2 separate regions of the Homo sapiens genome follow, and region 2 is linked to region 1. Evidence: promoter capture Hi-C in human tissues and cell types (Jung and others, 2019). All regions are on one chromosome and are shown on one strand. The core of a region is centred on a gene start or on the middle of the fragment in contact, and the rest is flanking DNA. Distances in the headings are between cores, read along the strand shown. Region 1 holds the start of VPS18 (VPS18 core subunit of CORVET and HOPS complexes). Region 2 overlaps DNAJC17 (DnaJ heat shock protein family (Hsp40) member C17).

Region 1 (7,546 bases), core at 3,961-6,460:
GTGCGGAGCGCAGCTTGGGGGTGTAGAAGGCCAACTCACTGTAGCCCAGGTTGCTGGGAAACTCACGGAATGGGGGTGGGTGGTCCGTGTAAGCTGCAAAGAGCCCTGAGAAACCCTGGGCCTCAGCCCCCTCTGCTGCTCGGCCTATGAACTGGAAGAGGCGCTGCCGAGTGGTGGCAATAACAAAGCTACGCCCATCAGGGCCCCGCTCGGCCTCAAGGGAGCACACAGGTGCTGGACCCCCTTCTTCATTTAGCACGTACAATGGGCGGAAGTAGAGATCCGGAGCAGGGCCGAAAAGCCCACCTTCGCTGGCTGAGAGCTCTGCTTCAAAGATGTGGCCTTGGGCAGTCCCGACCAGGATGGGGCCTGTGCTGCTCTCCGTGCCCAGTGCCTTGTTCCAACCCACACTCTCCACCAGCTGCCCCTTCCAGCGTGCTAGTGGCCGTACCTTCTGTCCATTTCGGTTCACGTAGAGGACCTCCGTGCTGCTCAGGGCAATCAGCAGGTGAGAGCCTGGAGTGGGGAGAGCATGGCGCCCCAGTGGATGCTGCCGTTCCCATCCTCAGCCTCCTCCTGGCCCCCACACCACCCTCAGAGCCCACCCACCCAGGCAGTGACTGACCAGAGACCCCCTCCTCAGATCTCCACTGTTACTTACCAGTATGGTCAAGGAACATCTTGTGAACTTTTGCGTCATCCTTACGTCCCAGCTCCACGTGGTTGGGCTCATTTGCCTTGCCCAAGTCAATGCTGTGGGGACAAGCGTCACCATCACTTTAGAGAAGGGAAGATCCTTTTTTGGATCATGATCTTCTTTAATAATCTGATAAAAGCCATAGACTTACTTCCCTGAAATATACATCTATGCATAAAATGCTGAATACAGGCCAGGTGCACTGGCTCAGCCTGTAATCCCAGCACTTTGGGAGTCCGAGGTGGGTAGATTGCTTGAGCTCAGGAGTTTGAGACCAGACTGGGCAACATGGCGAAATCCCATCTCTACAAAAAATACAAGAAAATTAGCAAGGTGTGGTGGTACACACCTGTGGTCCCAGCTATTTGGGAGGCTGAGGTGGGAGATCACCTGAGCCCGGGAGGCAGAGGTTGCAGTGAGCTGAGACTACACCACTGTATTCCAACCTGGGCAACAGAGTGAGACCTCATCTCAAAAAAAAAAAAAAAAGAAATTGCTGAATACAGCAGCTCTGCCTATGGAGTAGCCCTGAAAAATATACAGGGCCCTACTTAAGAACTCTCTTGCCAGGTGCAGTGGCTCACACCTGTCATCTCAGCTTTTAGGGGCACAGAGGCGAGAGGATAGCTTGAGCCCAGGAGTTTGAGGCCTGCCTGGGCAATATAGCAAGACCGTGTTCTCCACAAAAAGGGGGGAAAAAAAAAAAAAAGGCCGGGCGCGGTGGCTCACGCCTGTAATCCCAGCACTTTGGGAGGCCAAGGCGGGCAGATCACAAGGTCAGGAGATTGAGACCACGGTGAAATCACATCTCTACTAAAAATACAAAAAATTAGCCGGGCGCGGTGGCAGGCGCCTGTAGTCCCAGCTACTGGGGAGGCTGAGGCAGGAGAATGGCGTGAACCCGGGAGGCGGAGCTTGCAGTAAGCCGAGATCGAGGCACTGCACTCCAGCCTGGGTGACAGAGCAAGACTCTGTCTCAAAAAAATAAAAAGAAAAAGAAAAGAAAAAAGACAAACAACAACAACAAAAACCCTCTCAGCTCTGCAAGCTCCCTCACCTTATTTTGAGAAATCACTAAGGAGAAGTTTTTCCCCTCTGCTCAAAAAAGAATCAGACTTGAAGGAAGAAAACAAAAAGATCTCCAGTGCATCTGGGAAGATAGGCAGAGATATCCCAGATTGCTGAGGTAAGAAGGGAACAACAAAGAGTAGCTCATAGTTACTGGGCACTTTTATATACCAAGCACCATGCCAAGAGCTTCATCAATCTAGTATTATCTCAATTAATCTTGACAAAAACCTTGAGAAGTACTCCTGTTTATATTTTCCTTATGAAATTCTTTCCAAATTATATGCTTGTTCTAACTAAAGAATCGATGCAAAGATGTATAAAGAATGACTTAATTTTCTTCTCAAACTCCTGTTATTCCCAACTGAGAAAATTCATGTTAACATCTTTTTTCATACTCATAACATAAATAGGGTGGTTTTGTTGCTGTCATTATAAAAATGCCTTCATATTGCACATATGTGTATGTGTCTTAATTTGTAAATTTTCTAAATTAATGATATTTCATGAACATTCCACTAGTCAATCGATATAGCTCTAACTTTTTTTGTTTTTACCCCCAAACCCAGCTTTCCAGGATAACTCTTTTTTTTTTTTTCAGACAAAGTCTTGCTCTTGTCATCCAGGCTGGAGTGCAGTGAGCATGATCTCGGCTCACTGCAACCTCTGCCTCCCGGGTTCAAGCCATTCTCCTGCCTCAGCCTCCCAAATAGCTGGGATTACAGGCACCTGCCACCACACCCTGCTAATTTTATATTTTTAGTAGAGAAGGGGTTTCTCCATGTTGGCCAGGCTGGTCTTGAACTCCCGACCTCAGGTGATCTGCCTGCCTCAGCCTCCCAAAGTGCTGGGATTACAGGCGTGAGCCACCTCGCCCAGCCAGGATAATTCATTTTTTTAAACAACTGCATTATATTCTATTTTGTGGCTGAATTGCAGTTTAATCACCATTTTCCTATTGATGAGCATTCAGCATGGATCCAGTTTTTCCCACCACAAGAATGCTCTAATCAATACTCTAATACTCTTAAGTCTACACTCCTAAACAGTTTTTTTTTTTTTCCTTTTCCTTTTTTTTTTTTTGAGATGGAGTCTCACTGTTGTCGCCTGGGCTGGAGTTCAATGGTGCAATCTCAGCTCACTGCAACTTCCGGCTCCCAGGTTCCAGCAATTCTCCTGCCTCAGCCTCCCCAGTAGCTGAGATTACAGGCGCCTGCCACCACGCCCGGCTAACTTTTGTATTTTTAGTAGAAACAGCGTTTCACCATGTTGGCCAGGCTGGTGTCGAACTCCTGACCTCAGGTGATCCACCCTCCTCAGCCTCCCAAAGTGCTGGGATAACAGGTGTGAGCCACTGCACCTGACTTTTTTTTTTTTTTAAAGAGACAGGAGTACAGTGGTGCAAACACAGCTCACTGCAGCCTTGAACTCCTGGGCTCAAGTGATCCTCTTGCCTCGGCCTCCCCAGTAGTTGGGACTGCACCATCACACCTAGCTAATTTTTAAAAATTTGTTTTGGTAGAGACGGGGGTCTCACTATATTGCCCAGGCTGGTCTCAAACTGCTGATTTCATGTGATCCTCTTGTCTTGGCCTCCCGAAGTGCTGAGATGATAGGTGTGAGCCACCATGCCCTGCCAGGCCAGATACTTAACCACTACCCTGTATTGGTTCTCTTTGGAAAGGGATAGGATATTTCCTGAAAACTCCAAATTCACTGCTTTACTTGCCTGGAATAGAAGAAAGGCCCAGTGAGTTAACAGTCCCCAAACACCTCTCTAGTCCCTACTCCTAAGCTCTGTGAGCTCTTGATTACCGGAGCAGTGTATCCTTGCCCAGGCTCATGCACAGCTGATTGCTGGAGACGACAAGACTGGTAATGCGCTCGGAAGGGGTGAAGTCAATGCGCTGCTTTGTGAAGATGGGCACTTCCTTCTCCAGCTGGGCATTCACATACCCTACAGGTAAGGAATGACAAGAAGATTAGCTGTGGAAGAGACAGGTGAAGGGCAAGGAGAGGCAGAAAAAACACCACAGTGCTCCTCGCCACTTTCCTGACATATTCCTATCCCCAGGACCTTGGTTAACAAATAGTTTGATATCAAGTCGTTTGCTGGTCACCTTTACAATAGAGGTCTGGAGCTCTTTCCACACTCTGACAGCAGTGAGGGGTTGATTCTTTGAACCCTTAAGATGCTGTCACAGCATGATATACCTGCTCCCACTGGTAATGGGGCTGCGTGGAGGTGGGACGGGACTGGTGGTCTGGGTATTCTCCCTTATCAGGTCTTTGGCCCAGCAATCCCAGCTTAACTGAAGTAGTATAGCCCCATTCTCTGCCCCCCTCCCTGCCCATGCGGTAATGAGCCTCAGTGTAGAGTTGGCAAGTGCTGGGATATTTTGAGCATTGAATGAAGGTAAAGACTAGAGTGAAAGCAGCTCCAATTCGTTAACTCCACTCACTGGAACAGTTCCCCAGGGCTCCCTATGCCCTCATTCTCCTGGAGACTCACTACTTTCTACAAAAACGTCCCCAAACTCCAGGCTGCACCCAGCTATAGCCAAGGCCAAAAAGATTTCATCTCCATTTTCCCCGTTCAGCGACAAAATTCCCTCTGGGACCCTCCCTTCTTCCTCTGCAATACTCCGCCTTCACCACTTTCTTTGTCCATTCCTTCCCTCCCACCTCCAGAAGGGGCCTGGTGGGAAAAGCATCAGCAGAAGCCGGGAGCCCATTCTAAGTTCTCCCAACAGCCCAACTGCGCCCTGTAGGTGAGTAATTCCTTATCTGGGCCCCAATTCCCTCTCAAAAGGACCCTAGCGGTAGAGCCTAGATCACGCGGCAGCTCCCGTTGCTCTTTCAAACTTCGACTATCCACCAGCTGGGGGCCAAGAGAGCCTGAGGAGAATCAGGGGCCTAGACCCGGAAGGCACGGCCCAGGGGATGACCCCGAGCTCTTGGAGCTGCCCTCCTCGCTGCTCCCACGCAAATGCTAGGAGAGCCGAAAGGGGCAGCGGCACCCTCCTCTTCCTTACCCGAGTGGGGGATGCCCACGCTAGGGCAGCCGGGCTGCAAGACGGCCGAGCGGGACAGCGAGTTCTCGTACTCATCCAGGATGGACGCCATGGTGCCCGGCCTCTGGGCTCTTTGTCCGGGGCCTGGGGATTACAAAAGGGCTACCCCCCCGGGGTCCCCGTCGCCCCAGAATGGAAGCTGTAACTCCCCAGCCTCTGACAGATCCTGGGAACCTGCAGCCGTCGCCTCCTCTTTAAAATCCTGAGGATCCTCTTGCTCTTGCCTTATGCAGCGAGATAATCGGGCAGCCCTCGTCCTTGAATCTGGCGCAGTCTTGCACCTTACTCCCCGCCCCCGCTACAAAAAAATCACAGGCTCCCTTCAGCCGGTGCCAGGTGATCCCAACCTCGCCCCGGCAGCTCAGCTGACTCCCGCCCCCGTGACGCGGGCCTAAAACGTAACTTCCGGGTTCTCAGAGCCCCGCGTACGCTGGCGCACAACGTCGCCGGGCCAGCCAGCAGAAGGCGAGACGAGGGCTGAGGGCTGGGCGCGTGGCGAGTGCTGCTGAACACAAGCCCCGCCCCCAGGATCCTGCTGCAGTTCCGAGCTTTGACACCAGGAGGCAATCCCGGCTTTCTCAGCCGGCCTTCCCCACCCGCCCCGCGCCGCCCAGTTTTGGCTTTCGTGCCCAAGCTCCGCTCCCTCGGGTGGTCTGTCCAGCCTCCCTGACCAGCTCCCGCTCCCGCCTCTCTAAACAGCCTCGGGGAACCTCCCGTTCCTCAATCCAATCGCTGTCTCTATCCCACCGTCACAGGGCACACGCAGACAACTCCTGGCCACTCTTCTCCCTTACCCAAAGGCCCCCCAGCTTCCAGGAGACCGCAGAGCTGGTGGCCAGGCTAGTGGGAAGCCCTGTGCCAGGAACCGCCCTGACCTGCCCCACAGTGGCTCCTTGGCTCAGGGTTGCTGGGCCGCTTCCATTCACTCATTCACCAAAATGTGGTTGAGCACTTACTCTGTGCCAGGCCTTGGGCTGGGCGCTGGGGTCACAGAGATGAGGACAGCCCCTCCCCGCCCTGGAAAAGGTCGTAAGCCAGCAGGGGCGCTGGACCCGTAAATAGACCATTCATACTAGAAAAGCAAGTGATGGATTATCCATCAGGCACTTACTCCACGAATGAGCGTCCACTCTGTGCCAAGCACTGTTCCAGGCTCTGGGGACGTGGCAGAGAACAAGACGGAAAATGTCTCTTGCCTGGTGGGGCGTACCCAGCGACGTGGCCACGGCACTGAGAGCGTGAAGGAGCAGGGAACAAATACCTGCCAAGCCTAGCAAGAACGAGGGACAAGTGGGAGCAAGCGTGAAGGCGGGGGCCGCCCAGCCTGAGGTGGAGAGGGGAGTCCTCAGCCAGGGACCTGCGAGGGCTGGGGCGCGACTGTGGTTGGGTTTTCCTCTCTCACCTGCTTAGGCGACCCAGATGGAGTCTGTTCCCTTCTGGGGCCCTTGGATTCTACCTTGCTAAAGTGGAAGGCTCTGGACTAGGGTCGCCACCGTCCTGGCTCTGCTGGGCGGCCCCCGCCTAACAACTAAGAGCATCCCTTTGCTCTCAGAAGTTTCCAGGTTTGCACCATACCTTATGTGGTTGGGTTACTCTTGCTCAACTTCCTGGCCACGTGCGGAGAACTGTGACTCTCACCAGCCCCACTGAGGGCTATCTGGGCTCTCTGGCTTGGAGGGGCACTAGTCCTGGGGCAGGTGACAAGTATGCTGTCCAGGCTCATTTCCCTTCGCACCAGGGTCCTGCTTCTCTTGACCAAGCCTGCAGCCTCAATGCAGCCTTCCCACCTGAGGTTGCCAGGTCCCAGGAGGGAAGTGCAGGAGCAGGACAATAGGCAGGAGGCTTCCTCTAAGAAAAGTGATCCCAGACAGGGAGCTGCCCTGCTCCATACATAACACTTCACCCCCAGGTCACCTGCCATCTGCCCTCAGGTCTGGACTGTGCAGAGGGTTGTCCCTGCTGCACAGAGCCCATTAGCAGTTGGAGGTCAGCATAGGAGTGCTGCCTTAGGGACACAGAGTACTTCCAGCTACAGCCTCAGGGACCCCAGCACCCCATTGTTGGGCTCCATGGCTCTCCGGGATGTATGGGATAGGCCTGGGTGGACCCTGTTTGTGGCAGACTCAGTACAGTCTCCCTTATGCGTTGATTACCACAGTGCATTTCCACCTACTCATTCTTCAGTTCTTAGGCTGGACTTTGGATTCTTTGAGAGCCACAGAATCAAGTGTGGCAGTTGCAATGAGACAGGTAAGGGATGACTGCTAGGGCATCAAAAGAGAGGATTCCTGTATGAAAGCAGCTGAATTTGACCCAAGACTTGAAGTGCATGTATGATCTCCAAGGGCAAGCTGTATCTCTTATCCCTGCCCAGCCACTTGCTAGCTGTGACACTGCACAGTTGATGCTCTTAGCTTCAGTTTCCTCATCTACAGAGACAAATACCTACCTAGTAGGTCTGTGCTGAGAAGTAAATGAGGGATCCACGTGAAAGCTCACTGCTATAGTATAATGCCCAACATGGAGCATGTGCTTAATAAACTCTAAATGTGACTTTCATCTGACAGTCTCTCTCAAGTCCTCCTCCTTCCTGAAGCCTCTCTGGATCCCTCAGAACTCTTTTTAGAGATGGGATCTTGCTCTGTCACCCAGGCTGGAGTGCAGTGATGTGATCATAGCTCATCTAAACACCTGGGCTCAAACCATT
Region 2 (6,859 bases), core at 4,049-6,548, 110 kb after region 1:
GAGGGAGGTTATATTATAGCATATAAATTACTGCAAGGAAAAGGCTATTTTATCTTTAAGCTAGCTATTATCTTGGTACCACTAGCTACATATTTCTTTTATACCCTAGAAGGTGGTGCATCAACATTGTTTCTTAAAAATTTAAGAAGACTTGGTTTTTGAGGACAGAGGACAGACAAGGGCTTGAAGGAGCAACCGGGGCATGCAGATGTGGAGTGCCTAGCATGACAGGGAATGGGCATGGCCTAGGGTTTGCTGAGGAGGTCGCAGGAGATGAATCTGAGAAATGTGTGTTTGGGCCTCTAGGCCCTAGGGTGGTTACACTTGATTCTGTGAGCATCTGGGGGCCATTTCTGGATCTGAAGTGTGCCTGATGTAATCTGCTGTCTCCAAAGGGGGCTTTTCCCAGAACCTCTTATATCTAGACCAGGTGCTGAGGCCTTGAGGTTGGGTACTGAGCCTGTTTGTTTTGTTTTGTTTTGTTTTTTTCAGATGGAGTTTCGCTCTTGTTGCCCAGGCTGGAGTGCAATGGCGTGATCTTGGCTCACTGCAACCTCCGCCTCCTGAGTTCAAGCGATTCTCCTGCCTCAGCCTCCCCAGTAGCTGGGATTACAGGCGCGTGCCACCACACCCAGCTAATTTTTGTATTTTTAGTAGAGACAGGATTTCACCATGTTGGCCAGGCTAGTGTCGAACTCCTGACCTCAGGTGATCCGCCCACCTCAGCCTCCCAAAGTGCTGGGATTACAGGTGTGAGCCACTGCGACCAGCTGCCTGTTGTTTTTTATTTTATTTTATTTTAGTTTTTTGAGATGGAGTCACTCTGTCACCCTGGCTGGTGTGCAGTGGTGCGATCTTGGCTCACTGCAACCTCCCCCTCCCAGGTTCAAGCAATTCTTCTCCCTCAGCCTCCCGAGTAGCTGGGTCTACAGGCACACGCCACCATACCCAGTTAATTTTTGTATTTTTAGTAGAGATGGGGTTTCACCATGTTGGCCAGGCTGGTCTCAAAACTTCTCACCTCAGGTGATCGCCTGCCTTGGCCTCCCAAAGTGCTGAGATTACAGTCATGAGCCACCGCACCCAGCTTTTTAAAATTTTTTTTGTAGCCTCAATATATTACCACATTATTTATTTGTTTATTTATTTATTATGGTTTTTTAGAGGCAGGGTCTCCCTACATTGTCCAGGCTGATCTCAAACTCCTGGGCTCAAGGGATCCTCCCACCTTGGCCTCCAAAAGTGCTAGGATTACAGGCATGAGTCACCGCACCCGGCCTATTTTTTTTTATTTATTTTAAGTTATTTTTTCCAAGCCTGGTTTCACTTGAAGATAGTTGTTCTTCACCAAGGGCCTGACCAGCTCTGGGTGGATCTAGCAGCTGGTCTCTAAGTCCTCTCAGTATCTCCAAGTCCCCTCAGTATCACTCTTCACCAAAGCTGTCTGGCTGAAGCTCTGGATTTTTGAAGTTACTTAGGTGCCTGTTAAGTCAAAAGGAATGATTCATTTGTGTTTGTAAGCTGTAAGCGATTCATTAACATTCAAGATAATACCTCACATTTCTATGACACCAAAGTGCTTTCACATAAATTATCTCATTTGATGAGACCTTGAAAGCAAGCCTGTGAGGTGGTCAAGGACTACTGGCACCAATTCCTAGATGTGGAAACAAAGACTCCAAGAATTTAAGTGATTCGCCCAGCATAAGGTGGCTGGTACTGCCACCTTATTTTATTTTTATTTTATTTTTATTTGGAAAGAGAGTCTCGCTGTGTCGCCCAGGCTGGAGTGCAGTGGCACGATCTTGGCTCACTGCAACCTCCGCCTCCTGGGTTCAAGTGATTCTCATACCTCAGCTTCCCAAGTAGCTGGGATTACAGGCATGTGATGCGCCACCATGCCCAGCTGATTTTTATATTTTTAGTAGAGACGGGGTTTCACCATGTTGGCCAGGCTGATCTCAAACTCCTGACCTCAAGTGATCCACCCGCCTCAGCCTCCCAAAGTGTTTGTATTACAGGCGTGAGCCTCTGCGCCCGGCCCACACCTGAATTTTCTACTCCTCTTTGAGAACTTTTTCCGTGACCCACACTTCAGGACCAATTAGAGCAACAGGAGACGGGTCTGTGGGCCCCAGAGAGTCTCGCAGCCCCATCTGTAACACAGATAGAGATTTTACCTGCCTGGGACTTGGGTAAACCCAGCAGGTAGTAAGCTGCTCTGAACAGCTTAAGGAACTGTGTTAAGATTTGTGTTAAAACTACCATAGCACAGTTTCCATTTCCTTGAAGTTAGTGGCATTCAAAATGTTTTCCATTTGCATAGCGCTTTCCCTATTTTTGCTGTTCGTAAGTATTGTTATTTAGTTATTTTCACTAAATCAACTCATTTCTTTTCTTTTCTTTTTTTTTTTTTTTTTTTTTTTTTTTTGAGACAGTCTGTCTCTGTCTCCCAGGCTGGAGTGCAGTGGCGCAATCTCGGCTCACTGCAAGATGCGCCTCCCGGGTTCACGCCATTCTCCTGCCTCAGACTTCCGAAATCAACTAATTTCTTTTTACTAATACAAATTTGTTTATAAAGGAAACAATGCATTAAGGGAAGACAGAAATGAATGAGGTGTAGGAAGTACCAGGGCCCAGAGGGAAGGAGTTCTACCCCCTGGGAAAGGGCAGAGACTGGGCAGAGGAAGTGGTTCTGGGGCTAGAGACCCAGGCCTCTAGGAGTTAAGAGTGACAGCAGGCAGTGGGGAGACGTTTCTGGCAGATCTGGGCATGAGAATCTACAAGCTGAGAGAAGGTAGGAAAGGCTTTTGGGGTCTGAGCCTAATATAGCGGTGGTTAGGATAAGGTTAAAAGGGAGGAGGTGGGCCAGAGAGCAGGGTGGTATCTGAGGAGGAGAAAGAGGGCTGTAGACTGGGTTTCAAGTGGGCTGGTTTGGGGAAGTGGACCGAGGAGAGCAGGATAGGAGGGAGTACTGTGGGGGAGTGAAGGAAGGGGGACCTGGAGATGAGATCCGGGGGGATGGGAGGAGCTAAAGAGTGGCCTCAGGATTGGCTGAGGAACCAGAGCCCAAAGGGCGTACAAGGGCCATCATTTGGGGAGAAGCAGGCCAGGCTCCGTGTGTGGTCCCAGCTGTTCTAGGTGGCACAGGCCCCTGTTCTGAGACTGAACCATGGGCCATGGCTATCAGCCTGAGAGGGATGTCAGTGTGAGGCCCAGGTTCTCTGGTATTATCTTGGTACCACCAGCAGGCCCATGTTTTGGGAGCATTGAGCTGAGGGGGCTGTCTGGGGTTGGCCAGCTCTCTGCTTGTGCCAAGCCTTGGGAGCAGCCCATAGGTTGTACAGTGCCCAGGCATTTGGGGACTTCTCTGTAGTGCTGTCCCAATAGGGGTCACAGGCTGTAAGGAATGAAAGGATCAATCTTTCAGGCACAGGGAACTTCTCTTTTATTTTTATTTATTTATGTTTATTTAAAGAGATGGATCTCACTCTGTTGCCCAGGCTGGCATGCAGTGGCATGCAGCCTCAAACTCGTGGACTCAAATAATCCTTCCCAGCCCCACCCAAGTAGCTGGGACTACAGGTGCATGCCACCATGCCTGGCTCATTTAAAAAAAAATTTTTTTTTTTTTTTTTTGAGACAGAGTCTCGCTCTGTGGCCCAGGCTGGAGTGCAGTGGCATGATCTCGGCTCACTGCAAGCTCCGCCTCCCGGGTTCATGCCATTCTCCTGCCTCAGCCTCCCGAGTAGCTGGGACTACAGGCGCCCGCCACCATGCCCGGCTAATTTCTTGTATTTTTAGTAGAGACGGGGTTTCACCGTGTTAGCCAGGATGGTCTCGATCTCCTGACCTCATGATCCACCCACCTCGGCCTCCCAAAGTGCTGGGATTACAGGCGTGAGCCACCGTGCCCGGCCCATTTTTAAATTTTTTGTAGAGGTGGGGTTCGCTTTGTTGCCCATGCTGATCTTGAACTCCTGGCTTCAGGCGATCCTCTTGCTTTGGCCTACCAAAGTGTTAGGATTACAGGCATCAGCCACCATGCCTGGCCAGAGGGGACTTTTAGGCAGGTGCCCAGAGCTCTGTTGTTTGCTTCCTGCGTGTGACATCAGGCAGTCATATACCTCTGGGGTTCCTGCTAGTGAGGGGATGGGGAGGCATCTGCCTCTCCGGGCTTGGGGAGACGTGGCTGCCCCAGCTGTTATCACTCACTGTGCCTGTGACTGGAACTGGGCCTGGCAGTGGGTTTCCAGCTGATTTACCCGGGATGCTTTGTCCATTCAGTGCTTGTTGTCACATAGAGCTGCCTCCCTCTGTGTCCTCCTTATCTAAGTCTAACCTATCAGCCTCGGCCTCTTTACTTGTACCACTTACTTACCTGGCTCCAAGCTTTATTACAAGAAAGGACAGCAACCTTTTAAAAAATAATGATCCCTTCTTTGTAGGGCACCTTTCTTTTAAGTTAATGATGGCTATTTTGTATTTATTGGATCCCTTAGCACTTAGCTTTTTTGGGTGAGTCAGGAGTTCCTTCCCCCATCAAGAGGTGAAACTGGAGGCAGGTGGATGTCAGAGGCCCTGCTGTGTGCTTGCGGCAAAACCCAGTGGAGGTGGCTAGAGACCCAGCTTCCAGCCCTCCTCCCCTGCTCTGGGTTCAGGTTGCTGAAAGTGGTAGAACCGGTTATAGAGCTTCCGGGGAAGGGCTGGGTGGCTGCCAATTTATTATTCATTGTCTGATGTGGGCAATGAGGGGGTAACATTTAGTTCCCACTGTGGTTATCCTGGCAGTCTGCTTTAGTAATTCCTTCCCTTTCCCAGACTTGGTTTTTTAAGAGGAGGTGTTAGCAGGGAGGAGGAGAAATTGTGAAATAGTGGTCAGATCTCCTAGGGTCTGGATGGCACCTACTTCCTTCTGCTCCTCAGTGGGTCTGAAGTAATTGACATAGTTGAGGTTTCCGATTGTGTTTTGGTTGAGAACAAATGAATGTTTGCCAATTCATGCAACAGATATTTATTGTGTGCCTGCTGAATGCCAGGTGCTGTTCACTGTTCTGGACCCTGGGGAGAAGCAGAACTCCCTGCCTCCTAAGTACATCCACTTTATTTGTAAGGGGAACCCCCATACCTTCCTATACCCTTATGCTCTCATTTAAGGTATAGTTATAACCAGCTTATCTGTTTCTCTAGACCATACCAGAAAAGAAGCAGCAGATGAGCAGCACTTCTAGGGAAGGGCTGGCATCTGGCAGTCTAGTAGAGGCCAACTAAGGAAGTAATAGGAAAACTATTAAAAGAGTAGAATTTAAAATCCTCGCCACCTAGGGAAGCAAATGAAAAGCCTGACACCACTCTCCGTAGAACGTGTCATACTATTCAGTAGTTGATGTTCTGGATGATGATCCTGAGACATCAAAAACAGATTAAACTCAACCAGTCTAGGATGGAAAAAGGGTGGTAGACAGTGAGGTTTTTAGAAAGCCATCAGGAGAAAGACCAAGTTTCTGCAAATTGCAGTTCGAAGTACTCACGGAGCTTACATTTATCTGAGATCTTCGTCCTTCTGAGGCTGGGCCTTAGAAAGAGCTTCTCCTCTGAAAAGCCATGATCTGGATGGGGAACTTTGGGTTGGAAACATTTGAACTGTCACCTGGATCCTTTGTGAAGTCTCAGAAATGCAAGTGTTTCTAAGCGCTAGAGAGACCAGGGGATTTAGGGGAAACCTATAGGTAAAGAAGAAAAGCTGCAAGTGAAAAGCCACACCTTGCTGTGGCTGCTTCAGCTCTGCCTCAGTGATCCCAGCACCTGCAGACACAGTTTCTTTCTTTCTCTTTTTAGAGATGGGGTCTTGCTCTGTTGCCCAGGGTGGTCTCAAACTCCTGGGCTCAAGCGATCCTCCCGCCTCACCTTCCCAAAATGCTGGGATTACAGGCGTGAGCCACTGGACCTGGGCCAGAGTCAGTTTCTGGAGGAGCTTCCAACCCGGGATACCTGGCTTTCAGCAGTCCTGTTTATCCTATATCATAAGGAGTAAGATTATAGAGGATGGCCCTTCTATTTCTTGTTCTTCTGAAAGTTCCTCTCCTTCCCAATTTTGTGATAGTTATAAAAAATAATTGTTGTACATTTTTACCCTGAATCTAGCCTTTTGAGCTGTTCATAAGGTAGGATTATTTAATAATAAACAATATTGAGACCGGAAGGTTTTTCAAAGGCCTGCTTTAGGAGAGTTGTGTTTACATGGTGAGAAATTCTTCAGGCAGCAGTCAACTCCAGGAGGGCTGGACAAAGCTGGGAATCTAGTTTGTAGTACAAAGCACCAAATTCTAGGCCAACCGGTTCAAAGTCAAAACTGGTCTTCCAGGCTAAAACCAAGGGATGGGCCCTGCCCAGGGCAGGTTTAACAGTTAAATATAGTAATAACTAGTTAATCAAGACAGACATACTTGACCAACATTCTTAGGCCAGCTGGGTTTTGATTCAAGGCCACTCTGGAAGATCTCAGGCTACCTACCCATCCCTTCTACCCCTTGAATAAGAGTATTTCAGAGACCCTGGGAGTGAACCCAGGATTGAATTTTAGATCTACCCCACAGCAGACTCAAATCCAGCCCTGTCCACCTAGAGAATTCAAATGGAGTTGACCTGCATCCACTGTGGACCAGGGTCCATTCCTGAATTCCTGTCCAATTGGCATCCTGCTGGCCTGGTGTCACAGTTTACCCTCTTCCAGAAGTAGAGGAGAGAAAGGTTTGGGAACTTGTAGGAAGCACCTAGTTTTTGTCAGGTGCTTACACGGATCATTTTCTTTAATCCTTCCAGCAGCCCTGTGTGTAGGATTTATTCTTCTCAGTTTGAT

The links. Contacts are between HindIII fragments. The study calls those that stand out against the background at their distance.
Region 2: a fragment that was not itself captured here is called in contact with the fragment with the promoter of VPS18 in region 1 in 3 of the 25 tissues and cell types used here (bladder, mesendoderm cells and thymus).

The regions. Positions count from the first base shown.
Region 1 is chr15:40,892,114-40,899,659 of GRCh38, reverse strand. VPS18 (VPS18 core subunit of CORVET and HOPS complexes) reads right to left here and starts at 5,210. Exons shown (of 5, transcript NM_020857.3): 1 at 4,801-5,210; 2 at 3,581-3,722; 3 at 662-753; 4 at 1-516. The coding sequence starts at 4,891. RefSeq lists an enhancer at 4,395-4,484 and a silencer at 5,325-5,494. The HindIII fragment of the contact is 19,251 bases long and covers 1-7,546 here.
Region 2 is chr15:40,785,476-40,792,334 of GRCh38, reverse strand. The region is part of intron 1 of DNAJC17 (DnaJ heat shock protein family (Hsp40) member C17); the gene reads left to right. Among named protein-coding and RNA genes, the nearest start is that of ZFYVE19, 18 kb to the left of the region's middle. RefSeq lists an enhancer at 1-20. The HindIII fragment of the contact is 6,259 bases long and covers 2,169-6,859 here.